Regions from separate parts of the Homo sapiens genome. Here region 2 is linked to region 1. The links are contacts of gene promoters, found by promoter capture Hi-C in blood cells and fetal thymus (Javierre and others, 2016). All regions are on one chromosome and are shown on one strand. The core of a region is centred on a gene start or on the middle of the fragment in contact, and the rest is flanking DNA. Distances in the headings are between cores, read along the strand shown.

The links. Contacts are between HindIII fragments. The CHiCAGO score rates a contact against its expected background, and 5 or more counts as called.
Region 2: a contact is called between a fragment that was not itself captured here and the fragment with the promoter of DAW1 in region 1, in 1 of 17 cell types (M2 macrophages). The highest score is 6.2, in M2 macrophages.

Annotation. Positions count from the first base shown.
Region 1 is chr2:227,869,000-227,874,638 of GRCh38, forward strand. DAW1 (dynein assembly factor with WD repeats 1) reads left to right here and starts at 2,632. Exons shown (of 13, transcript NM_178821.3): 1 at 2,632-2,730. The coding sequence starts at 2,691. It also overlaps the pseudogene CRIPTOP2. The HindIII fragment of the contact is 8,065 bases long and covers 1-5,639 here.
Region 2 is chr2:229,400,597-229,405,861 of GRCh38, forward strand. The region is part of intron 10 of DNER (delta/notch like EGF repeat containing); the gene reads right to left. Among named protein-coding and RNA genes, the nearest start is that of PID1, 130 kb to the left of the region's middle. The HindIII fragment of the contact is 1,009 bases long and covers 1,210-2,218 here.

The DNA of each region.
Region 1 (5,639 bases), core at 1,382-3,881:
GCTAATTTCCTTCCTTCCCTTCCTCCCTCCCTCCCTCCCTCTTTCTTTCCTTTCTTCCTTCCTTTGTTTACAAAGAAAGGGATGGTTTTGGGTTCAGAGTCTTTGGCAGTATATAGTAATTAGTATATAGTAATATAGTAATATATAGTAGTATATAGTAATTCAATGCCTTTAGGTCAATATATTTTCCATTTTTACTGTGCATACGCATATATACAATGTATTTTAAAAGTTGGCTTTACAATATGTAGTTTTATCATTTGGTTTACAACTAAATATATTGTGAACATTTTCTCTTCTACAACAGTTAAAAGAATTGCATAGCTTGGAGGAAACATAATTTATTAAGCAGTCTTGTTGGGGACATTGAGGTATAATTTTTTTTTTATAAGGAGACTTCATTCTTTTTACAACACCTTTGGGAAAAAAATTGGAGTCCTTGTCTCATATAGCTTTCTATAGATGACGGAAACTTACCCTTCCATTTAGCCTTTTAACTTTCTTCTCTACACCCACCTAATCACCATCAAGTAACCCATTTTATGTTTTCCAACCTCTCTCTCCCATTTGCTTCCTCTTTCCTACCCAGTCTCCCTGCATACATGCAGATGAACTTCCATTCCTTCAGCCCTCTGTTTCCTCCCCTTAAAGAGGCTTTCTTTCCATTTAAAGAGACTATTTTAATTGATTTTTATCAACTCTACTCAAAACTGTATCCTAAGGTCCACATTAGGATTGGTCTTTAATAATCTGAAGATAATATTCAATTGTTTAAAAGAACTTTTAAGAAGACCTTGGTAGAATTACATGTATCAAGAAACATGACTTAGGCACAATGGAGATATGGCTGACTTTCTTTTGAAAAAAGAAGTAGTTTTTGTGGGGAGGGCAGGGCAAAGAGGTAAGAAGTATTTGGTACTACAAGGAAATGTTAGAGACCATTTTGGAAATGTATTCATTATTTTAAGGCAACTAACAAATGATCATCTTTCAGTTAGGACATTATAGCAGCAGCCTTTACTGGTCATGAAATTTGAATGATATCTAAAATCATATTTCTGGAAATAGGTCAATGTCAATTAATAGTAACTTTGTATAGAAAGGCAGATGCCAGCTAGCATATAAAAGTGGTGCATGCAGACGGTGGTAGTTCTGGAGTCCTGGGAGCCATGAGGTGCTCATCCATCACAAGGCCATCACAGCCAGGTAGAAATGCCTGAGGAAAGCAGCGGAGCTGCCCGTGCCAGCATTTACACATGGAACACTTCTTGGGCAGCCGGGTGTCATGGGGCACAGACCCACAATTCTCTTTGCGTACACCGTGCTCACAGTTCCATCCATAGAAGGAGGGGAGGCAGGCACAAAAGGACCCCAGCATGCAGGTTCCCCCATTCAGGCAGCAGGTTCTGTTTGGCTCCTTACTGTCCTGTATCCCCATGGGGGGCACAAGCTGGGAAGACCGAGGACGAATTGCAGGCTCCTCCTGGGGCTGAATGCTGTCATCTCTGAAGGCCAGGTCTCCCTGAGATGGACGCACAAGTTCCCGATGGCTCAGCCTTTAACAAGCAATTCAACGCCTTTAAAAAATTGCCTTTACTTTTACAGTTACTGGCTGTTTACTGAAAATTTCATATAATTTTAAATTTAGAAATAAAAACTTCACAGATGGAATTAAATTTCATATAATTTTCAGTAAACAGCCAGTAACTGTAAAAGTAAAGGTAATTTTTAAGATTACATTTTACTAAGTGAAGTAAAATAAGTGAGTCAATCTAGAGACATTTTAAGAACTTAAAACTTAGGTATGGATCTCTGGAAGAGGTAAGGAGAGATATGGCTCATAGTTGCGCAGATAACACAGGAATGACTCAAGTTTGAGAAATTCCAGTTGAGGCCAAATTCCTTAAAGGAAATTGACAAGCTGGTTGGCTGACTCTGTCTCTCCGCAGGCTTTCTCATGGAAACGTGGCAGGCAAACAACGATGCTGGCAAGAAATTGGACAAGCCGCATGAAGGCCTGGAGAGTTTTAAGCCCAGGTTGAGAGCACAGGTGTAGGCTTTCTGGTGTAGGTTCCGACGCACCTGCCTTCCATTCCCGCCTATCCATTTAGGCTGCGACCTCTGGTAGTTCTCCACTTTCTCTAATTCTGAGTTACTTCATCCTTAAGAAGTGGTGCATAACTCACACCTTGTTAGGATTGTATGAGTATGTGTGCATACACCGTTTAAAGCAATGTAGGGCACAGAGTCAGGAAATGCAAAATATTAAGTTGAGGTCATTTTTCTTTTGGGAGGACAAGGACAGGGCACGGGCTGGGGCCCTAGAGTAGTAATTAGCGATGGGCTTTTCCTCCCAGCCTTCCTTTTGGGAAACGCAGTGTGCTAAAAAAGTGCATGCAGCCCAGGCTGTGGCCTAGGCCGTCGGTTCCCGGCCATGCCTAGCTCCTCTGAGGTCGCCCTTAGTGAGGACACGAGGTGCCCTCACCTCTTTCACTCTAGACACCTCCAGAACACTCGCCCCCCGCGCGCCGGAGCCCCGGGTCGCCACCAACCGCCCGCGGAGCCAGACCTCCCAGCTCTGCGCCCCAGGACCGCGCGGTGCAACCTGCGCATGCGCACCCGCGTCCCGCTGCTGTTTAGCCGTTTCCAAGGCTACGAAGCCCATCGGCCGGGGATAAGAGAGCAAGAAAATGAAGCTCAAGAGCCTCCTGCTCCGGTATTACCCGCCAGGTACGCACCAGCCCGGCCCCGTCATCCCCACGTGGGACCCTGGGCTCCCAGACTGGGAGGGTTTGGGGCGGAGGAGGGCGCAGCCACTGAAAGGCGGCGGGGTCCCCAGGTGGGGCAGGAAGTCGGGCACTTCCCAACCTGTGCCCCTCATTCCTTCAGATGCTGGACTCTTCCTCAAAACATTAACAATTACTCTTTTAGGAATTTAAAGAGTTTAGCTTGACTGTGCATGTCAGTCTGTCTGCATTTATTGAGTGCCTACTGCGTACACGCTTTGTGCTCTCTGCTATGGACCTTTAAAGAAGTTCATAGTGCTTGATTTCAATGAGTGAAGTAATTATGAAATAAATTACTTAACTATTACTTAGTAACATAAGCAATACATTAATTACCTAATCCTTGCCTAACTCTAATTTTAGGTGAGGACATGGTCACCTTTAAAGAATAAGTGACACCCATTGATCACCCAGCTTCTTAGGGACAGAAATAGGAGTGCAATTCTTGGGTTCTAATTCAGAACTCGTCTTCTGAATTAGAAACATCTGCAAAAAAAAAAAAAAAAAGAAAAAAAAGAAAAAAATCTGCAAAACATACCACAAGGCAGAAGATAACCAAATACACTTGCCCAATGAAGTTTGGATAGGAAGTGTCATAAAGATTTCAAAGGAGGGTAAGATACTTTGGACCGGTTTTGTTAAGAATAGCTTTATGAGGGGTGGGACTTGAATTTCAGGTTGAATATCTCACTTTTCCCTGCAACACATCCAACTGCTTGGTCAACATCGCCGATGAGGTATCGCATAGAGATCTCATGATTTCTTTTTTCCAGTCCCATCCCAATCCTGCTGCTTCCTCAAACTGTGCCCTGCCAGTAGAAGGCATCATCACCCAGCCTGTTTTTTGCCAGAAACCTAGGTGGTCACTTTTTGTTTCTCTCCTGTGATCATTCACTGCCTCCCCCACCCCCCCAACCCCCGGCATTCCGTTATCATTCTGCCAGCTCTAAGTCCAAAATATTCTGTGAATCCATCAGATTATCCCTCTTTCCATAGCACAGATTTCTTGGTCTAACATCCCTTCCAGCTGCCAACCTAGTCCAACCCTCCATTCCAGCCACCATTCCCTTTGGCTGAGCCACTCCAGTGGCTTTTCAACTGGATTCCTGGTTTTCACCCTCATCTCCTACAATCCATCTGCCACTAGGAGCCAGTGGGATCTGAATTCAAGATCTCCAATAGCTTCCTATCATGCTTAGAATACGATCCGCAACCTGTGGGATTTGGCTCATTCTGTGCTGCTGACTTCTAAAACTTCACTTGTCTACCCTCACTATACTTCTGACTTCTTTAGCTTGTTCTTCTAAGACTTAAGAGAGGGCCTTTCACTCATTCGTTTTTTGGACCCAGCTTTCCCTAGAGCTAGGAAAAGCTGCTTCCTTTTCTTCATTCAGTTTCAATCAATGTCAACCACCTGAAGAGACTTTCCTACCTATTCAAAGTAGCCTGCACTGATTTTACTCTATGCCATAAAGTGCTTAAAAATTATATTTGTCATCATCCAAAACTCTACTTGTTTTGTTTCAAATGTCTGCCCCTTTCCCATTTAATGTAAACTTCGTGAGAACTAAGATCTTAGTGTGGTTTGATCATTGTAGCACCCTCAGCTTCTAGAAGAGATTTGGTGACACAGAAGATCAGGAATGTTTGTTGAATGAATGTATGGATAAATGGATGTGTTTGATGAGAGGTCAGGTATGGAAATTACTGAAAATAAACACTGAAAATCTTAAGGGATGCTGCTTCTGCCTCCCTGGAAGACCGATCCTGGACAGCTACTTTCTCCAATGGGAAGTTGACATTTGTAGAAAAGACATGCATTTTCTCCTTCATAGAATTCCAGTTAAAATAATATGAGAAAGCTATATATATGACAGTATCTAGATAAATTTATTTTATGTAATTAATTAATTAATTTAATTTTTGAGACAGAGTCTTGCTCTGTCACCCAGGTTGGAGTGCAGTGGTGCAATCCAACTCCACCTCTTGGATTCAAATGATTCTCATCCCTTAGCCTCCCAGGTAGCTGGAATCACAGGTGTGCACTACCAAGCCCAGCTAATTTTTGTATTTTTAGCAGAGACGGGGTTTCACCATGTTGGCCAGGCTGGTCTTGAATTCCTCACCTCAAGTGATCCACCTGTCTTGGACTCCCAAAGTGCTGGGATTACAGATGTGAGCCACTGCATCAGGCTGAGAGTATCTACGAAATTTAAATTAGGCATAGGTAGATAGTATATAGAAAATTTAAAATTAAGACTAATAGTCTGTTTCCTTTAAGTATTCCATAATTTTCTTTTGGCTCTTTTTGCCCATAGGCCTGTGCTGGTTCCCATAGATGTACCAATAAATGAAGCTCTTGCTTTCATCTCTTTGTTGTGGAGTGTAGGTTAAGAATATGAGCTCTGGGTTCAGAATAACGGCTTCTCACCATATACAATAATAAAAAAACTTGGGCAATTTGTTTTATTCTATCAAAGCATGGGTACATGGTGACAACAGCACCACTTCACAGGTCTACTAGACCCTTCCAGCTTCTTATCTTATTTGATTCTTTCTCTTCAGAGTAGAGAAAATTTTTGGAAGAATACTCTCCCCAAGTGCTGTCCTCCCTTCCTATCATGTTTTCACGCGGATTGCCCCACTGAAACTGCCCACTTTAAGATCTCCAATGACATTCACATTGCTAATCTACTGGCCAAGCCACAGTCCTTGCCTGCCTTGACCTGACAGCAGCATTCAACCACTCTGCTTTTCTTTGGCTTCCAGGACACATATTCTATTTTCCTTCCTGTCTCACGTCACTTCTTCTGTGTCTATCTTGTTGGTTCCTCTTCTTCTTTTTGATTATTT
Region 2 (5,265 bases), core at 464-2,963, 1.5 Mb after region 1:
GGTAATAGGAGCCAACTGAAAGAACTCCCAATGGCCAAAGTATTGGATTATAACCTAAAGTATAAAATAAATATCCATGAACCCATAAATAAATGATTAAATAAATACACAAATGGAGGAGAATAAACAAATCTTTCATCCAGAAGAATTCCAAATAATTCATGTAGCTACTTTACCCTTAAAGAGCAAGAGCATAACTCCCTTCTTGATAAGTGTGGACTACACAACACTTTCTTTGGAAGGAAGTCACTTCCTCCCAAATTGTTAAGTATGGAAAGGGAGAGAAGGAGTAACATTATAGTAGAGAAACTTGACAAACACTACCTCAGCTAAGTGATCAACATCAACGTCAATGATCATAAATCTCATTGACAGTATGTAGCCTTGATGTGATGTGATAGGATTAGAAAATGGACAAAAGACAGAAAGAAACATTTCTTCACAGGATATGCAGATATCAAATAAGCACAGGAAAAGATGCTAAACATCATTTATCATTAGGGGAATTCAAACTGAAACCCCAATGAGCTATCATTTTACCCCTATCAGAATGGCCCAAATAAAAAATAGTGATAACACCAAATGCTGGCAAGGATGTAGAGAAACTGAATCACTCAGACATCGTTGGTGGGGAATATAAAATGCATAAGCCACTCTGGAAACATTTTGGCTCTTTTTATAAAACTAAGCATGCAACTACCATATGACCCAGCAATTGAATTTCTGGGCAATTGTCCCGGAAAAATGAAAATTTATGTTCACACATAAACCTATATATGACAGTTTACACCACCTTTTTTATAATAGCTGAAAACTGAAAACAATCCAGATTCCTTTCAACAGGGGACTGGTTAAACAAACTCTGGGACATCCATACTTTGGAATACTGCTCAGCAATAAAAAGGGAGAAATTATTGACCCAAAATAACCTGGATGCATCTCCAAAGAATCACGCTGAGTAGAAAAAAAAATCAATCTCAAAAGGCTACACACTATATGATTCCATTTATGCAATATTCTTGAAATTACAAAAATGCAAAATACACTAGTGGTTTCCAGGAATTAAAGACAGTTGTGGCGCAAGGGAAAAGGGTAACCAGTATCCTGGTTATGAAATTGTACTGTAGTTTTACAATATGTTATCATTGGAGGAAACTGGGTGAAGCTTACATTGGATCTCTCTCTATTACTACTTGCAACTGCAGGTAAAGCTTCAATAATCTCAAACTAAAATTTTGAAAAACTAGCCAGAGAAAAATAGACCCATATATAATCAATTGTTTTCTAACAAATGTAGCAATGAAATCCAATGGGGAAAAGACTGTATTTTCAATAAGATGCTGGACTAACTGGATGTTTACATGGGAAAAATATTTTCCATCCTTAAGTCACACCGTAAACAAAAATTAACTCAAAACAGACTCTACACCTAAACTTAAAAGCAGACCTATTTTAAAAACACTTTAGAAGAAAACATCGGATAAAATTTCACCATCTTGAAGTAGACAAAGATTTCTTACAATACCAGAAAAGCACAAACCATAAAAGAAAAAAAATTGATAAATTAGACCAATTACCAAAATTGAAAACTTTACTCCCCAAAAGATACCATTAAAAAAATGCATGGATGAGCAAAATGTATACCTGACAAAGAACTTGTATCCAGAATATGTAAAGAATTCTTTGAAATCAATAGTATGACAAACAACCAAAATTTTTTAAATGGGCAGATTATTTGAAAAGATAATTCACAAGTAAAGACATATGAAGAGCAAATAACCACATGAAAGATGCTGAGCATCAAAGAAATTCAATGAAAATGTCAATGAAATTAAAGCACTGATGGTATTTTACCATAAAAATTGAACTAGAAATTGTAATATTCTATTGTGAACTGAAAGACAAATATCAAAAAATAGTTGAGTTAAAAGACAGAGAGAAAGATATAGTAACATCATTCTACCTTTAATAATGCACAAGGATTTCCTGCTCTGGTGAGAAAGGAATGGGTCACTTGTGTCCCAGCTGTTCAAATGACAATGTCAATGGGCTTGGAAGAATCTTTGGCTTCCCTGTTGAAGTACGGTTACCTTATGTCCAGTCTATGGTTTCAGGTAAAAAAATAAAGCAAATCCTAGAGAATTAATGTTGCATCAGGGTATCTTTCCTTCCATCCACTGGTCCTCAGCCAGATAATTCCAAGGGGGCAGAATTGCAAAGCTTCGGTGACAAGAGTGGTCCCAAAGTAAGACAGTAACTGAAGGGTGGACAGGACCTAGGCCAGGACAGTGGGCCTTATGGAGAGAACTGTGTAGAAGGAATGAAATGCTTGAAGAGCAGGGAGGCTCTCTGTTCAGATGACTGGAGGAAGCGTATTTTCAGCCAGAAGCCTAGGTTCAGCAAGAGAGGACAGAGTCCCCCACATACCACACCCTATACTTTATCTGATGGCCTAAGAAAGCCAGTTTAATATGGTAAATATGACATTGGATTGAGTATCTAATTATATAGCAATGATTTGCCCGATTCACTCCACTCGGTCAAGCAGAGAGTTTTTGAACACTCAGTAGCTGGCCAAGTGTAACTTCTGCTAAACCTCAGGTACAATGAAAGAGTATTTGATTCCAAGGTAGCTCAACCTCAAGAGCAGAAGCACCATACTCCTTGTATGGAAGCAGTTAATATTTTATCAGCCTCTCCTGTGGAACACTAGTTCTCAGGAACAATAGATTCTCTTTAAGGAAAAAAATGGTTCTATGATCAAATAGATTTGAAAGATAAATTTACTGTTAAGACCTCTGAGAACCTTGAGCACACAGACATCCTTTATGAATCTGCACGTGGGATGTATCATGTCCCACATTTATTTGGCCACAGAACACTTTTTTCCATGGAGCATCTCCTGGGACCAGTTTTCTGTTAAACGCATTAACAGCACAACCCCTAAATGACTTTAGGAACTATTCTGTGGTCCTCTGTAGGCTGAAAAACTATCAGGGCTGAATAGAATAGACCACTTGTTTTCAAAAAGCAGTTAGAGTGATGTTTAAACCTACTTCAGTGAGTCCCACTGCGCCCTGAGATCAGGGTGGGTCTCATGAAAAAATGCCTAAGGGTGAGATTGCTGGTGGGGTATATATGGGTATGGTGGGTGTAGGGGTAAAGGGATGAGCAGAGGGGGGCTGAGAGGCAAGAGATGGAGGAAAGGCACCTTACTGAGAAGAGCGTGACATGGTATGTTCAGTTATGCAGCAAGCAGAGGGGCCCAGGACAAGGCTGGAAAGGCTGGATGGGGCCAGACCACTCAGGTCTTAAAGATTATGTTAAGGACTTTGATCTTTTTCCTAAGGACAATAAAATGCCAATAGGTGTTTTAGGTAAAGAGTGATAAGATTAGATGATCATGCATAAGGTCTCTGCAGTATGAAAAATGGATTAGGAGTCAGGAGGAATAGGTGTGAGGAGACCAGATAGGAAGGCTTGTAGTGGTGCAGGTAGGTTGGAGGTGAAGGCAGCATGGTGCTGACTCTGCAAAGAAGTGAAAAGATCTAAGAGGTTTTTAGGAGTCCTTGGTAGTTGGATGGAGGTAAGAGGGAAAAAGAGGAAGGTATATTAGTCTGTTCTCACACTGCTATGAAGATACTACCCAAGACTGGGTAATTTAGAAAGGAAAGAGGTTTAACTGACTCACAGTTCTACATGGCTGGGGAGGCCTCGGAAAACTTACAATCATGGCAGAAGGCACCTCTTCACAGGGCGGCAGGAGACAGAATGAGAGCCAGCAGGGGAAATGCCAGCTACTTATAAAACCATCAGATCTCATGAGTACTCACTCACTATCATGAGAACAGCATGAAGGAAACTGCCCCCACGATCCAATTACCTCCACCTGGCCTCTCCCTTGACATGTGGGGATTATGGGGATTCCAATTCAAGATGAGATTTGGGTGGGAACACAAAGCTTAGCCATATCAGATGATATCAAAATGGTTACCCAGTTTCTGGCCAGAATGACTGGGAGTGATGGTAATGCCATTTGATGAGCTAGCAGATATTTAAAGAAGGAAAGGAGAAGAAGATCTGAGTTTGGGGTGTCTCTGAGATTTTCAAGATATATGTGGAGTAGATAGTTGGAGTTTTGCTAAATATTCTGGAGAAAACATGACATTTTCTCATAAAATACTGAAGTAAATTTTAAATGCATTAGAGACTTAAATGCATAAAATTAATTCATACATGATTAGCATAATAGAGGAGAATATTTCTAAACTCTTGATATATAGAATCTTTCAGCATGAAACACGAAAAGAAATCAAGACCTCAATATGTAATTATGGACTAAAATATAACATATGGAAAACAAAATACTTTTGTCCAGATTTAAAAGGCAAATGACAGTGGAAAAATATGTGTAACCTATGGCAGATAAACTGTTATATACTTAAAATAAAGGGCTATTTCAAATAAAGAAGAGTAAAGATTAGCATGAATGGTCTCATAAAAAATCAGACAAAGGATATGAATAGAGAGTTCATAAAGGAAGAAACACAACCAGAAACATATTTAAGAAGTATTCAACCTTACTATAAGTCTAAGATCTACAAATTTAAACAACACTAAAATGATATTTTTGACCACTAGAATGACAATTCTCAGTATTTGTGTCAAGACAAGGAAATAAATGCTCCTGTGCACTTTTGGTAGGAGAAAATATCGGTTCAATGTTTGTTTGTTTTTTCTCCTCTTAGAGAGTAATGTCGAAATATGTATGTATTCTCCTGTACCCTGGGATTCTATTTCTGCAAAATTATACTAAAAATAATAAGATAAGTACACAAAGATGTAAATACAAGAAGATTCCTTGTAATGTTGTTTATAATGGGGAAAAGTTCTCAACTGCCCAAAAGTTGAATTGTGGATGGAACTTTTAAAAAATCATATTTCATATAATGGACTATAGGGCAGCCAGTAAAAATAAAACAGAAGCTATTCCTTGATGTAAAAACACATTTATGATATACATATATTTTTAAGTAAAAAGTAAATTATAAAATAGTATGAGTGGTATGACTCCTTTTATATTCAAATATGTATGCATATACACTATACACTATATACTACACACACACAGACCTTCAGGAAAATTTCTGGATATCAGAATGTATCAAAATCTTAATAACAGTTACCTCCTAGCAGATCAATTTTCAGTGGTGGGATTTTTTTTCCATAGTCCTATATTTTCTAATTTTCCTTCTATGCTTTTTT